Regions from separate parts of the Homo sapiens genome. Here all the other regions are linked to region 1. The links are contacts of gene promoters, found by promoter capture Hi-C in human tissues and cell types (Jung and others, 2019). All regions are on one chromosome and are shown on one strand. Each heading gives the region's core, a stretch centred on a gene start or on the middle of the fragment in contact. The rest is flanking DNA. Distances are from core to core; before and after follow the strand shown. Region 1 holds the start of DNAL1 (dynein axonemal light chain 1). Region 2 overlaps PSEN1 (presenilin 1). Region 3 overlaps NUMB (NUMB endocytic adaptor protein). Region 4 overlaps PSEN1 (presenilin 1).

Region 1 (3,698 bases), core at 520-3,019:
CCTTCCGGTTTTAAAGCTTAAAATTTAGGTATCCCCCAGACATCTCAGAAAGTATCAAAGAACTTAAACTTACCAGATCACTACATATGAATTTTGGTGTACCACCACTCAGTCCACAGCAAACATTAAACCCTCATAATATCCTTTTAGATATATGTTTATATACGTGTGTGTACTATGTATAACTTTTCCATTTTTTTGCTTTGTTTTTTGTTTTAGAGACAGGGTCTGGCTCTGTTGCCCAGGGTGGAGTGCAATGGCACAATTAGAGCTCACCTAAGCCTCAAACTCCTCAAATGATCCTCCTGCTTCAGTCTCCCCAGTAGCTGGGACTATGGGTGTTGTACCACCATGCCTCGCTAATTTTTATTTTTTACAGAGCCAGGGTCTTGTTACGTTGCCCAGGCTGGTCTTGAACTCCTGGGTTCAAGGGATCCTCTTACTTTGGCCTCCCAAATTTCTGGGATTACAGGCATGAACAAACTGCACCAGGCCACTATGTATAATTTTAAAGGAAAATCGTACCAACTATTTTGTTTGGTAACTTCTATTTTTACTTGAAATATGACTATCTTTGGATGTGAATAGATGCCTTTCAGCAAGTCAATTGTACTTTTTTAGTGTAAGTACATTATTGCATTGGATGTTCAATACTACTAACCAATTTTCTCTCTCTTTTTGTTTGTTTGTTTGTTTGTTTTGAGACGGAGTGTCACTCTTGTTGCCCAGACTGGAGTGCAATGGCGCGATCTCGGCTCACTGCAACCTCCGCCTCCCGGGTTCAAGCAATTCTCGTGCCTCAGGCTCCGGAATTGCTGGGACTACAGGCGCGTGCCACCACACCCGGCTAATTTTTGTATTTTTAGTAGAGACGGGGTTTCACCATGTTGGCCAGGCTGGGCTCAAGTGGTCAAGTGGTCCGCCCTCCTCAGCCTCCTAAAGTGCTAGGATTACAGGCGTGAGCCACCAGTCCCGGCCACCAATTCTCTTTTGTTGATAATTGAGTTGATTTTTTTTTTTCTATTAAAGCTTTGAACATACATCTCTGTGCTCAGGATAAAGTCCTGGAAGTGGAACTGCTGGATCACAAAGGGTGCAAAAGTTTTTGAACAGCCAACAGCCTTCCAGAAAGGCTGTATCAATTATAAACAGCAGCGTATTTGTGTGTCCCTACTTCACCATACCCCTAGCAACTCTATGAATTATTATTATTGTTAATAATTTTTAGCTCATTTGGTAGGTGGGGAAAAAAAGACACCCTGGTGATTAAAACCAACAATTTGTGATATTTAAAATGTGGAACCGAGCTTTCAGCTGCCTCTGGCTCCCTGGAGGATCCGGGGTAAAGAAACATAAAATGGGTGGAGTTTGGCTCTGGTATTCTCAGTGGGATGGGATGGAGAGGGAAATTACAGCAAGCCGCTTATTCTCCCCTCGTCCGGAAAAGGGTGGGAAACGCCATCGTTAGGGCAAAGGAATTAAGAACATTATTTTATGAAAAGGGTAGTTGTTAGGGGGACGTTTTAAGGTTTTTAACTTTAGGCGGACAAGTCACTACAGATCAGCTGAAATTGCTTTCGGTCCTGACTACTCCTGTGCGGGGTTAAGACCTAAGGAAGCAAAAGGGCAGCCAGCAACAGCCGGACGGGAGGACCCCGGCGGCCGCCACGCAGTCCCACAATGCCCCGCTCGCACCACCCTGAGGGCGGAGAGAAAGGACCGCTGCCGGGGATAGGGCTTCCGCCGAGAGCGCCGAGAAGTGCGCACGCGCACTGACCCCGCGGGCCCTAGCAACCAGAGCAGTGACAGTAGCAACCGCCGGAATGGTGAGTACCTTTCGGGCCGCGTAGCCAAAGCTGAGAGAAGATTGGGAGTGGAAAAGGGTGACTGTGGAGTGTTGAGGGTCTGGGGGTCCTTGAACAGCGGAAGGGAGCCGGTAGCTGACGCTAGCTCTGTGGAGTCAGGGGCCCGAGGCGAAAGAGAAGCCCTGGCCGGGGGTGGTCTGTGGTGAGGGCGGCCTGGGGTGGATCGGAGGTTGGGTTAAGGTGGAGGGACTCAGACAGGAGAAAAGGGAGGGCGAAGAGCAGGAAATTCTCTAAAAAGAGCGTATTGGAGTGGGAAGGGTGATGGGAAGGAGAGTGTAGATAAAGATATCTCTTTACATAGAAGTAATTTTAGTGACCCCCCCGTCGAGATGCAGGGAGGGGCTGGTTACCAGAGGGTTCTGTATAACACGGATTGCAGCAGTTTTCGTAACCTGTGATGTACCCAGGTTGCCTTCTGAATGACTACGAGGGCAGTTATTAGGTGACACTGTAAAGCACACTCTGATGGATATATTAGAGCAGTGATTCTCAAATTTCAGTATGCATAGGTATGGGCTTGTTGGAATGCAGATTGTGAATTTTTAATATGATTGGGGGTTTCAGGAATGTGCATTTCGACAACACACCTCAAGTGATTATAAAATTGGAGGGCATCCCACCACACTGAGAAATGCTGTTGCCTTAGGTTTGAAATCTACCAGCTGTCTATCCAATGAGAGCTCTTTATGAAGTAATGGTTTTACCTAGAGATGCTCCTCAACTCTTACTTGATGTGTTCACTCTCTTGCTTACATACTTGGTAGTTCTAACTAGTCGTTTGAAAAGGATTGCAGACCCAGCCAGAGCTATTGAGCAAAGTATGTGATGTCCTACTGGATAGAGATGTTTATGAAGAAGAAGCATAATTACTTGTCTTCTTTTTGTGATTCCAGTGCTATATAAGTGGGCAGAAATTGAGCCCAGGAGATGGAAATGATGAGGAAGTCATGCCTGCCCTCAACAAGATGAAATACCACTCTTTAAAAAGTAGTTTCCCCCCTGCTTTCCTTACTTTGTTCCCCAAGCAGTTAGCTGAAAATCACTGCCAAGGAAAGTTAAAAGTTCTGGAACCTAGGTTTATATTCAGGTGAAGAAAGGCTCAGACCTAAATATTTATGAAAGTATGAACCATGGTGATTGTTGAAAATCTTCAAATAGAGAATCAGAACCAGTACAGTTATAAGTCACTTAATGATGACAGGGATACATTCTAACAAACACATTATTGGCAGTTTTGCCTTGCAAACATCATAGAATATGCTTACAAAAACCAGATGGTGTAGGCTATTGCTCCTAGGCTACAAAGTTTTACAGCATTTTACTATACTGAATACTGTAGGCAGTTGAAACAAGGTATTTGTGTATTTAAACATAGAAAAGCGGCCAGGGTGTGGTGGCTCACACCTGTAATCCCAGAGGCCTGTAATCCCAGCACTTTGTGAGGCCGAGGCGGGCAGATCACCTGAGGTCAGGAGTTCAAGATCCACCTGGCCAACATGGTGAAACTCCGCCTCTACTAAAAATACAAAGATTAGCGGGGCATGGTGGCGAGTGGCTGTAATCCCAGCTACTCAGGAGGCTGAGGCATGAGAATCTCTTGAACCTGGGAGGTGGAGGTTGCAGTGAGCTGAGATCGCACCACTGCACTCCAGCCTGAGCAACAGAGCAAGACCCTGTCTCAAATAAACAAACAAACAAACATAGAAAAGTTACAGTATTACAATCTTATGTAACCACTGTCTTATATGTGGTTGGTTGTTAACTGAAACTTGTTATGCAGCTCATGACTGTATTTAGAACTGGCTTAGTCTGCAAACTAGCAGACCTGGGTCC
Region 2 (3,725 bases), core at 363-2,862, 500 kb before region 1:
AGGTGGGGTGTCACCATATTGGCCAGGCTGGTCTCGAACTCCTGACCTCGTGATCCACCCGCCTCAGCCTCCCAAAGTGCTGGGATTACAGGTGCGAGCCACTGCACCTGGCCAAGGTTTTTTATAACTAATTTAACAGCAAAATCTGGCCTAGTTATCGTCTTTATTTTCTTTTTTTAATGTGATTTAAAACTATTCATTTGTTTCACTATAGCTTAATAATTTGTTTGCTTTTCTGCTTCTAAGACCCTGTAGGGGCATTATATAACTTCTGGCATTTGCATAGTACCTTTACAAAATCCAAAAAAATCTGAATTCTAAACACATTTAGTCCTAAAAGTTACAGATAAGGGATTCTGGACTTGCGATTCTAAGTCTTTGTTCGTTTTTATTGCATTTTCTGAGCCAACATAACCATTATTTAAAAACAAGTTGCTATAGTAACTCTACATTACAGACCTCCCCCAAACTCAGCAGTTCAGAGCATGTATTCTCACTCAGGGCTCTGCTTCCTTGTAGGTAGATGTGTGGATCGGTGAGGGCAGTTCTTATTTGTATGCCTTATTCTGGGGCCCAGGCTGAAGGGGCAGTGGCTATCCATGATAAGCTTTTCTCAAGGCACCAGCAGAAGTACAAGAAGTCAAGGCCAACTGCATAAGCATAGTTCAAATGTCTGGTTATGCCACATCTGCTAAGATTGCATTGACCAAAGCAAGTCACATGATCATGCCCAAAGACTTAGGAGTGGGTAGTAGACTGCAACCACCATGCAGCCAAGCAAACTACAGAGCCAAGCCTATAACATCACTGGAGAGAGGTGTATTCCTCCCTTGGCCAGGCTGGGGGAGGGAGTGAATATTGGCTGAATAATAATCTAATCTACCACAGATGGTTAACAGAGGTGGAGTGGGATGGAAGGAGAAAAAAAAAAAATCACCAAATGGGATGTATCACTACCCTTGCTCTTTTTAGCGTCTGCTGCTTTCACAAAGCCTTTTATAGGGCTGGAGAAATGATTTGCTCCTAGTCTCTTAAAAACCAGAGGAGTCTTTTGAGGATGTATTCCTAAAGTTTTTAAATTAGTTTAAAAATTTTTTTTATTAATTTCAATTATAGGCTGAGCACAGTGGCTCACGCCTGTAATCCCAGCTAAGGTGGTGGATCACCTGAGGTCAGGAGTTCGAGACCAGCCTGGCCAACATGCTAAATGAAACCCCCATCTCTACTAAAAATACAAAAATTAGCTGGGCATGGTGGTGGGCGTCTGTAATCCTAGCTACTCAGGAGGCTGAGGCAGGAGAATTGCTTGAACCCAGGAGGTGGAAGTTGCAGTGAGCCATGATCGTGGCATTGCATTCCAGCCTGGGCGACAAGAGTGAAACTACATCTTGGCCGGGTGCCGTGGCTCACGCCTGTAATCCCAGCACTTTGGGAGGCAGAGGCTGGCAGATCACGAGGTCAGGAGATCGAGACCATCCTGGCTAACACAGTGAAACCCCGTCTCTACTAAAAATACAAAAAATTAGCCAGGCGTGGTGGCGGGCACCTGTAGTCCCAGCTACTTGGGAGGCTGAGGCAGGAGAATGGCCTGAACCTGGGAGGCGGAGCTTGCAGTGAGCTGAGATTGTGCCACTGCACTCCAGCCTGGGCGACAGAGGGAGACTCCGTCTCAAAAAAAAAAAAAAGAAAAGAAACTACATCTCAATAATAATAATAATTTCAATTATAGGTTGGAATTTAGAGTTCGGTTACATTTACTATTGGATGTGATCCTTTAAAAACTCAAGTAGAGGCTTTTCCAGCCCATTCATAACATTAGAAGTTGGGCCGCCTGTCCAGGGAGAAGCTTTCAAAGTAACACTGAGGCTGATTAAATACTTTTGTAAAATAAAGAATAAATCACAAGCTCATTGGCACTTGAAACTTAGCATTGCAGTGCAGATGCAGCAGAAAATACTTGTAGCAGTTTTCTCAGTGAAAGAGAAACTAGTCAAGTAGCTTAGAGACATTAAAACAAGCCACAAGCCCTTTGTGCTAGAGATCATGGTTAAAAGTCCCCTGAAGATGTTTTTCCACAGTAGAAATTTTGTTTATATTTATGTCTGAGAGTGAAAAAAGAAAATGGAATCAATAAGTAACCATGTTCTGCAGGAGTTTGAGGTTTTGTTGTTACATTGGGATGTAGTGAGAGAAGAAAACGTATTAATTCTTTTCTGTTGGTACTTTCTTGAATTACATTTTTAATAAACTTATTGTGAGATTCTGAACATTGCTCCTGTGATAATTTCTGAAGTGCTGATGAGTAGAAGGTTTTCTGGTTAGACTTCTGTTCAGCACATCTGAGCTTCGAGATTATTTGTAGTTCTCCTGGGGCTTTTAAAATCTCTTTGTATATAATAGATAAATGCTAGTTTCCCATCAGAGAAGGATTTCTTTTTCCTTTTGTCTGATTGAGCAAGTGTCTTGAGATTAAGAAAATGGATGTCAGTGAATTCAAGTGTTGTGCTCTGTCAGTTTGCAGCAGGTGACCAGAGAGCAAAAACACCAGAGTAGATTCTGTCCCTACTCCCACCTACTCCTCAATTCGGGTCCCATGAAAGATCCTCAGATCTGGGTAACTGTTGTTGTTTTTGTTGTTCACAGGGCTAAGAATGTTCATGGCTAAGAATGTTAAAAAGTCTCCTAGTGTCTTTTGCCACGCTGCCTGAACAGTGGGGTCATTGACCGCCATGCAATCCTCAATTGTTTTCAGCTGATACTGGACCGAAATCAAATCTAGCTTTGCCTGCCCCTTTCTTTGTACCAGTAGCGCTTGTTTGTTCACCAGGCCTGACTGAAGACCTAGCCCTGTTGCCTGCCTCTGCTTCCTACCGAGCCCCCTGTAAAGAGCAGCTCTCCCAGGGAGGCTCACCTTGTAGCATTGTGATCTTTGGAAGCATCAAGGGAGGCACAAGATTTCTCTGGGTGAACTGGAAAAGACTTGGGCTGGGCATCAGAAGACTTGGGTTCTGCAACTGGCATTGTTTACACTCTCTCTGTAACTCTGTGCAGGCAAAATCTTTCACCTTTTCTGAGTTTTTTTTTACATGTCAGTACAGATTCCTTTCCTCATGAGGTTTCTTTAAGACTCAAATGGAAGAATAGATGTGAAAAGAACTTTGAAGATAGTATTGGAAAATGCTAAAGTGACTGCTGTGTTATTGATGATTTTTATGGGATTTGTCTGAGAAAGCTCCAGTGTGACCAGTTTGTACCAGCTTGTATGGTTTCTTGTAATAACCGAACAGATCCTGTTAGCATAGGGTAAAAATGGAAACTACTTCTTTTAAAATGACCAGTGGCTGCAGTGGCTCAGGCCTGTAATCCTGGCTAGTTGGGAGACTGAAGTGGTAGGGTTGCTTGAGGCCAGGCAAGACCAGCCTGGGCGATACAGCAAGACCCTTTCTCTAAATAAAAAACTAGCCACCCATGTAGTCCCACCTGCTTGGGAGGCTGAGGTGGGAGGATCGACTGAGGCCAGGAGTTCAAGGCTGCAGTGAGCTATGATTGCCACTGTACTCCAGCCTGGGTGACAGAGTGAGACCTTGTCTCTTAAAAAAAAAAAAAAAAAAAAAAAAAAAGATTTGCATTATAGCTTATCTTTTTTTTTTTTTTTTTTTTTTTGAGATGGAGTCTCACTCTGTCACCCAGGCAGGAATGCAGTGGCGTAATCTCAGCTGACTGCA
Region 3 (3,532 bases), core at 1,020-3,519, 330 kb before region 1:
TATTGGAATTTCTTAGAATCATCAGATTTAGTATCAGTAGACCCACTGATAATATCACGGATAGTAACTTCCTAATTCATTAATTTCCATATACAATCAAACCAATTCCTGCATTATAAAGAAACCAAAGCTGTACTAGTTTTAAAAAATATGTCAGTGCTACACTAGGGGTGTAACTCCTTATAAAGCAAGCATGAATGTGGCATCAAACTTACTTTTCCAAAGAAGCCTTTGAAGAACTTCCTTTCCTGGAGGAACAGGGGGACAAGTCGAGTGCTATTATTGTATGGCCTAAATGTCCCAGAGTTTCACACCAATAAGCACATACAGAAATTGGGGAAAGGAAAAAGTGGGAGAAGGGGTGGGAGTGAGTTTCAAAGAGTTATCCACACCAGGAGTGACAGGGAAAAAGGAAGGGTGCATGAAAATGCAGGGAAACACACTGTATAGCCTAAGAATCCATAGAAAGAGTAAGAAGAAATCAGAACCTGTATCCATGCAGAGCAACCAGTTAGTTTAGTAATCGCTATTTACATTTAAAACAGAGATCTTCCAAATTTGGCAGCAGAGAAAACAATAGGGCATACTGGTTTGGTGAGATTTGCATTTTAAATTTTATAATAGTGAATAGAAAATAGAAGACTGGTTCCATATACATTTTTTAAGTTTAAAATTGGCGGTCAACTATGTGAAAGTCACCAATTTTAAAAAAGTCCACATTCAAATGACCACATAATCACATTAAAAATGTAATACGTAAAATTAAATGAGTATGCATCAAAGGTCCTTGTCATACTTTTTTCTTAGTGAGTTCAAGATGTCACTTAGAAACTCCATACCACTTAAGGGGAGCTTGACCATTGGCTTTCCATTTACTTACATTAGTATCAATCTATATGTACAGGTGTGCTGATCAATTTCACAACACACATAAGGAAATAACATGTATGTTTTATTCCAGACACAGAATAAATTATCTATTAAGGTTACAAGGCTAATGTTTATACAAGAGCTGAGAAAACAAGTATCCTAAGAACCAAATGATGTCTGTGGGCCACAACTGAAATTTAAGAAACAGGGTTTTGTTTTCTTTATAAAAGCTATTGCTTATTATTATTTGGTTTTTGTTTGTTTGTTTGTTTGTTGAGTCAGAGTCTCACTCTGTCACTCAGGATGGAGTGCAGTGGCACGATCTCAGGTCACTGCAACCTCTGCCTCCTGGGTTCAAGCAATGCTCATGCCTCGGCCTCCCGAGTAGCTAGGACTACAGGTGTGCGCCACCACATCCAGCTAATTTTTGTATTTTTAGTAGAGACAGGGTTTCACCGTGTTGGCCAGGCTGGTCTCGAACTCCTGACCTCAAGTGATCCACCTGCCTAAGCCTCCTAAAGTGCTGGAATTACAGACATGGGCCACTGCGCCCAACCTAAAAGCTGTTATTTTAAAATAAAGAAACTTGCATTGACATTTATAAGGAAACAATTCTGAAACTATCTGGATAACAGAGGCATAACTATCTATGCTATCAGCACCAATTTTTAAGCACCATTTATGAAAACTGGCCACCAATTAAAATCTGTAGAATTTACACAAATTAGATGGGTTTGAACTCACACAAGCTAGATTTAACTTTACATTTCCTAGCTGTGGTTGAAATATACTTTAAGCCTTTACTTTTTATAATCATAGGTTTTTAATGTTGGATAAATGTCTAGGAAAAGATAATTGCATTGAAATCTGACTCTTTTACACAATTCATAAACTATTCAGTGCTCTCCAACACTGGAAAGTTTGTTTTCCCCTCTAAGCTTTGAAAATCACAAACAGCAAAAAATATTTCCACAAAACATTTTGAACTGCAACTGGAAAAATAATAAAGTAATTGGGTAGTTATCACAGTAAGACTAGATTATTTCTGCTGCCAAGTTTGGTGACCCTAGTTTTGTTAGACTATGAATAACCATAAGCTTTCAAGGATGCGGCCAAAGTTAAGATATTCACCATTCTTGAGGGATGGGAAGGTGAAGGAAGGAGATTGTTAATATTTAATTTAGCTCCTAGAAAAGCTACTGTTAAACATTGAGCTTTCCCTCTTTTTATAAAATACCCAAGATGTTAATGAAAAAAGTTGGCATGCAAAATGCATAAAAAGACAGTTATTAAAGAATAATAATGTTCTTTTAAAAACATTTGTTATGATTCTTTTACCTGCTAAAACAAGAACATATATTAAAACAAATATATCAAATAGTGAATAAAAAACCAACATATTAGAAACTGGTAGTATAATGAAACTAGTCTAAAACTAAGACAGAGGGAGAGACATTTAAGAAACAATGGGAAGAAATGACCTTAAACGAAGGGCATCTTGGACTAGAGTTAAGCAAGATAACCAAAGGCCTTATACACTTTTTTATGGAATTGGCTGATATATGACAATATTCCTCACCCTGTAGCTGATATGCCATAAAGGCAGTAACAATGGGCAATAGTGATTTCTGTCATTTATCCTATAGAAGCTAAGTCCCAAAGTAGCTAATCAGTGAGGTTATATGACAAAGTAAATGAGTTGAAAATAGCTGTCAATAACTTTATGCCCAGAAAGTTAAAAAATTAACATATTTATGCTCTGAGGAGCATATTTTTAAAACACTATCTTGTTTAGTTATAATATTTTTTTCATTTGAGCATATCAAGTATGCAGATGACTTCCAATTGAAGTTAATGTAATTCTAAATTGTAAGAGAGTATTTTGGTGAAAAACACTTGCAAATTATCTCTTTCCTCAATTGTTCACAAATTTAAAAAGCGCTAGAAGGCTGGGCGCAGTGGCTCATGCCTGTAATCCCAGCACTTTGGGAGGCCCAGGCTGGTGGATCACCTAAGGTCAGGAGTTGGAGATCAGCCTGGCCAACATGGTGAAACCCCGTCTCATACAATTAGCTGAGTGTGGTGGTGGGCGCCTGTAATCCCAGCTACTCTGGAGGCTGAGGCAGGAGAATCGCGTGAACCCGGGAGGCGGAGGTTGCAGCGACCCAAGATCGTGCCACTGCACTCCAGCCTGGGTGACAGAGCGAAACTCCACTCCAAAAAAAATGAATAAATAAAAAGCACCAGAAATATTACATTTTTAGTTCAAAGATTATTCACTAGATGTGTTGGTGGTACAGTGATGAGCATAGCTGCCTTCCAAAGATCATTCACATGGTAGGTTTAAAATGCTTGTTTTGTTACTTAACTGGTACATCTGAGCTATTCTTTAAAATTTTAAACTCTGGCATTCAAACTAATTTCAAAGATATCCTATTTCTTCTTTAATCCTCTGCAGGCTTATGCATCCTTATATTTGCTCCCACTTATTTGAAACTCTAAAAGGAAGCTTTATAATCTATAAAAAAAACAAACAAAAAGTCTCCAGAAACATAGCATTTGGCACAATATAAGTATCTGGCAAAGTAGGTTGTAGATCCCCAGTGGATGATTTTTAGATGAATGTTTGCTCAGAGAAATCAAAAGGCAACGAGAAATTTCT
Region 4 (3,924 bases), core at 1,381-3,880, 420 kb before region 1:
GTCTTTCCCATCTTCTCCACAGGGTTTGTGCCTTACATTATTACTCCTTGCCATTTTCAAGAAAGCATTGCCAGCTCTTCCAATCTCCATCACCTTTGGGCTTGTTTTCTACTTTGCCACAGATTATCTTGTACAGCCTTTTATGGACCAATTAGCATTCCATCAATTTTATATCTAGCATATTTGCGGTTAGAATCCCATGGATGTTTCTTCTTTGACTATAACAAAATCTGGGGAGGACAAAGGTGATTTTCCTGTGTCCACATCTAACAAAGTCAAGATTCCCGGCTGGACTTTTGCAGCTTCCTTCCAAGTCTTCCTGACCACCTTGCACTATTGGACTTTGGAAGGAGGTGCCTATAGAAAACGATTTTGAACATACTTCATCGCAGTGGACTGTGTCCCTCGGTGCAGAAACTACCAGATTTGAGGGACGAGGTCAAGGAGATATGATAGGCCCGGAAGTTGCTGTGCCCCATCAGCAGCTTGACGCGTGGTCACAGGACGATTTCACTGACACTGCGAACTCTCAGGACTACCGTTACCAAGAGGTTAGGTGAAGTGGTTTAAACCAAACGGAACTCTTCATCTTAAACTACACGTTGAAAATCAACCCAATAATTCTGTATTAACTGAATTCTGAACTTTTCAGGAGGTACTGTGAGGAAGAGCAGGCACCAGCAGCAGAATGGGGAATGGAGAGGTGGGCAGGGGTTCCAGCTTCCCTTTGATTTTTTGCTGCAGACTCATCCTTTTTAAATGAGACTTGTTTTCCCCTCTCTTTGAGTCAAGTCAAATATGTAGATTGCCTTTGGCAATTCTTCTTCTCAAGCACTGACACTCATTACCGTCTGTGATTGCCATTTCTTCCCAAGGCCAGTCTGAACCTGAGGTTGCTTTATCCTAAAAGTTTTAACCTCAGGTTCCAAATTCAGTAAATTTTGGAAACAGTACAGCTATTTCTCATCAATTCTCTATCATGTTGAAGTCAAATTTGGATTTTCCACCAAATTCTGAATTTGTAGACATACTTGTACGCTCACTTGCCCCAGATGCCTCCTCTGTCCTCATTCTTCTCTCCCACACAAGCAGTCTTTTTCTACAGCCAGTAAGGCAGCTCTGTCGTGGTAGCAGATGGTCCCATTATTCTAGGGTCTTACTCTTTGTATGATGAAAAGAATGTGTTATGAATCGGTGCTGTCAGCCCTGCTGTCAGACCTTCTTCCACAGCAAATGAGATGTATGCCCAAAGACGGTAGAATTAAAGAAGAGTAAAATGGCTGTTGAAGCACTTTCTGTCCTGGTATTTTGTTTTTGCTTTTGCCACACAGTAGCTCAGAATTTGAACAAATAGCCAAAAGCTGGTGGTTGATGAATTATGAACTAGTTGTATCAACACAAAGCAAGAGTTGGGGAAAGCCATATTTAACTTGGTGAGCTGTGGGAGAACCTGGTGGCAGAAGGAGAACCAACTGCCAAGGGGAAAGAGAAGGGGCCTCCAGCAGCGAAGGGGATACAGTGAGCTAATGATGTCAAGGAGGAGTTTCAGGTTATTCTCGTCAGCTCCACAAATGGGTGCTTTGTGGTCTCTGCCCGCGTTACCTTTCCTCTCAATGTACCTTTGTGTGAACTGGGCAGTGGAGGTGCCTGCTGCAGTTACCATGGAGTTCAGGCTCTGGGCAGCTCAGTCAGGCAAAACACACAAACAGCCATCAGCCTGTGTGGGCTCAGGGCACCTCTGGACAAAGGCTTGTGGGGCATAACCTTCTTTACCACAGAGAGCCCTTAGCTATGCTGATCAGACCGTAAGCGTTTATGAGAAACTTAGTTTCCTCCTGTGGCTGAGGAGGGGCCAGCTTTTTCTTCTTTTGCCTGCTGTTTTCTCTCCCAATCTATGATATGATATGACCTGGTTTGGGGCTGTCTTTGGTGTTTAGAATATTTGTTTTCTGTCCCAGGATATTTCTTATAAGAACCTAACTTCAAGAGTAGTGTGCGAGTACTGATCTGAATTTAAATTAAAATTGGCTTATATTAGGCAGTCACAGACAGGAAAAATAAGAGCTATGCAAAGAAAGGGGGATTTAAAGTAGTAGGTTCTATCATCTCAATTCATTTTTTTCCATGAAATCCCTTCTTCCAAGATTCATTCCCTCTCTCAGACATGTGCTAGCATGGGTATTATCATTGAGAAAGCACAGCTACAGCAAAGCCACCTGAATAGCAATTTGTGATTGGAAGCATTCTTGAGGGATCCCTAATCTAGAGTAATTTATTTGTGTAAGGATCCCAAATGTGTTGCACCTTTCATGATACATTTCTTCTCTGAAGAGGGTACGTGGGGTGTGTGTATTTAAATCCATCCTATGTATTACTGATTGTCCTGTGTAGAAAGATGGCAATTATTCTGTCTCTTTCTCCAAGTTTGAGCCACATCTCAGCCACATTGTTAGACAGTGTACAGAGAACCTATCTTTCCTTTTTTTTTTTTTAAAGGACAGGATTTTGCTGTGTTGCCCAGGCTAGACTTGAACTCCTGGGCTCAAGTAATCCACCTCAGCCTGAGTAGCTGAGACTACAGCCCATCTTATTTCTTTAAATCATTCATCTCAGGCAGAGAACTTTTCCCTCAAACATTCTTTTTAGAATTAGTTCAGTCATTCCTAAAACATCCAAATGCTAGTCTTCCACCATGAAAAATAGATTGTCACTGGAAAGAACAGTAGCAATTTCCATAAGGATGTGCCTTCACTCACACGGGACAGGCGGTGGTTATAGAGTCGGGCAAAACCAGCAGTAGAGTATGACCAGCCAAGCCAATCTGCTTAATAAAAAGATGGAAGACAGTAAGGAAGGAAAGTAGCCACTAAGAGTCTGAGTCTGACTGGGCTACAGAATAAAGGGTATTTATGGACAGAATGTCATTACATGCCTATGGGAATACCAATCATATTTGGAAGATTTGCAGATTTTTTTTCAGAGAGGAAAGACTCACCTTCCTGTTTTTGGTTCTCAGTAGGTTCGTGTGTGTTCCTAGAATCACAGCTCTGACTCCAAATGACTCAATTTCTCAATTAGAAAAAGTAGAAGCTTTCTAAGCAACTTGGAAGAAAACAGTCATAAGTAAGCAATTTGTTGATTTTACTACAGAAGCAACAACTGAAGAGGCAGTGTTTTTACTTTCAGACTCCGGGATTCCCATTCTGTAGTCTCTCTGCTTTTAAAAACCCTCCTTTTGCAATAGATGCCCAAACAGATGATGTTTATTACTTGTTATTTACGTGGCCTCAGACAGTGTATGTATTCTCGATATAACTTGTAGAGTGTGAAATATAAGTTTAACTACCAAATAAGGTCTCCCAGGGTTAGATGACTGCGGGAAGCCTTTGATCCCAACCCCCAAGGCTTTGTATATTTGATCATTTGTGATCTAACCCTGGAAGAAAAAGAGCTCAGAAACCACTATGAAAAAATTTGTTCAGTGTTTTCTGTGTTCCCGTAGGTTCTGGAGTCTGAGGATGCAAAGATGAATAAGATAAATTCTCAGAATGTAGTTATAATCTCTTGTTTTCTGGTATATGCCATCTTTCTTTAACTTCTCTAAAATATTGGGTATTTGTCAAATAACCACTTTTAACAGTTACCATTACTGAGGGCTTATACATTGGTGTTATAAAAGTGACTTGATTCAGAAATCAATCCATTCAGTAAAGTACTCCTTCTCTAAATTTGCTGTTATGTCTATAAGGAACAGTTTGACCTGCCCTTCTCCTCACCTCCTCACCTGCCTTCCAACATTGAATTTGGAAGGAGACGTGAAAATTGGACATTTGGTTTTGCCCTTGGGCTGGAAACTATCATATAATCATAAGTTTGAGCCTAGAAGTGATCCTTGTGATCTTCTCACCTCTTTAAATTCCCACA

What was found. Contacts are between HindIII fragments. The study calls those that stand out against the background at their distance.
Region 2: a fragment that was not itself captured here is called in contact with the fragment with the promoter of DNAL1 in region 1 in 2 of the 25 tissues and cell types used here (IMR-90 fibroblasts and lymphoblastoid cells).
Region 3: a contact is called between a fragment that was not itself captured here and the fragment with the promoter of DNAL1 in region 1, in 1 of the 25 tissues and cell types used here (dorsolateral prefrontal cortex).
Region 4: a contact is called between a fragment that was not itself captured here and the fragment with the promoter of DNAL1 in region 1, in 1 of the 25 tissues and cell types used here (lymphoblastoid cells).

Annotation. Positions count from the first base shown.
Region 1 is chr14:73,643,217-73,646,914 of GRCh38, forward strand. It overlaps DNAL1 (dynein axonemal light chain 1), which reads left to right and starts at 1,770. Exons shown (of 8, transcript NM_031427.4): 1 at 1,770-1,826. The coding sequence starts at 1,824. The HindIII fragment of the contact is 10,054 bases long and covers 523-3,698 here.
Region 2 is chr14:73,140,396-73,144,120 of GRCh38, forward strand. The region is part of intron 1 of PSEN1 (presenilin 1); the gene reads left to right. Among named protein-coding and RNA genes, the nearest start is that of PSEN1, 5.8 kb to the left of the region's middle. The HindIII fragment of the contact is 5,314 bases long and covers 1-3,725 here.
Region 3 is chr14:73,316,175-73,319,706 of GRCh38, forward strand. NUMB (NUMB endocytic adaptor protein) reads right to left here. Exons shown (of 13, transcript NM_001005743.2): 6 at 216-248. Among named protein-coding and RNA genes, the nearest start is that of PAPLN-AS1, 72 kb to the left of the region's middle. The HindIII fragment of the contact is 4,846 bases long and covers 1-3,532 here.
Region 4 is chr14:73,219,112-73,223,035 of GRCh38, forward strand. PSEN1 (presenilin 1) reads left to right here. Exons shown (of 12, transcript NM_000021.4): 12 at 23-3,924. The coding sequence ends at 178. Among named protein-coding and RNA genes, the nearest start is that of PAPLN, 16 kb to the right of the region's middle. RefSeq lists an enhancer at 3,824-3,924. The HindIII fragment of the contact is 9,247 bases long and covers 1-3,924 here.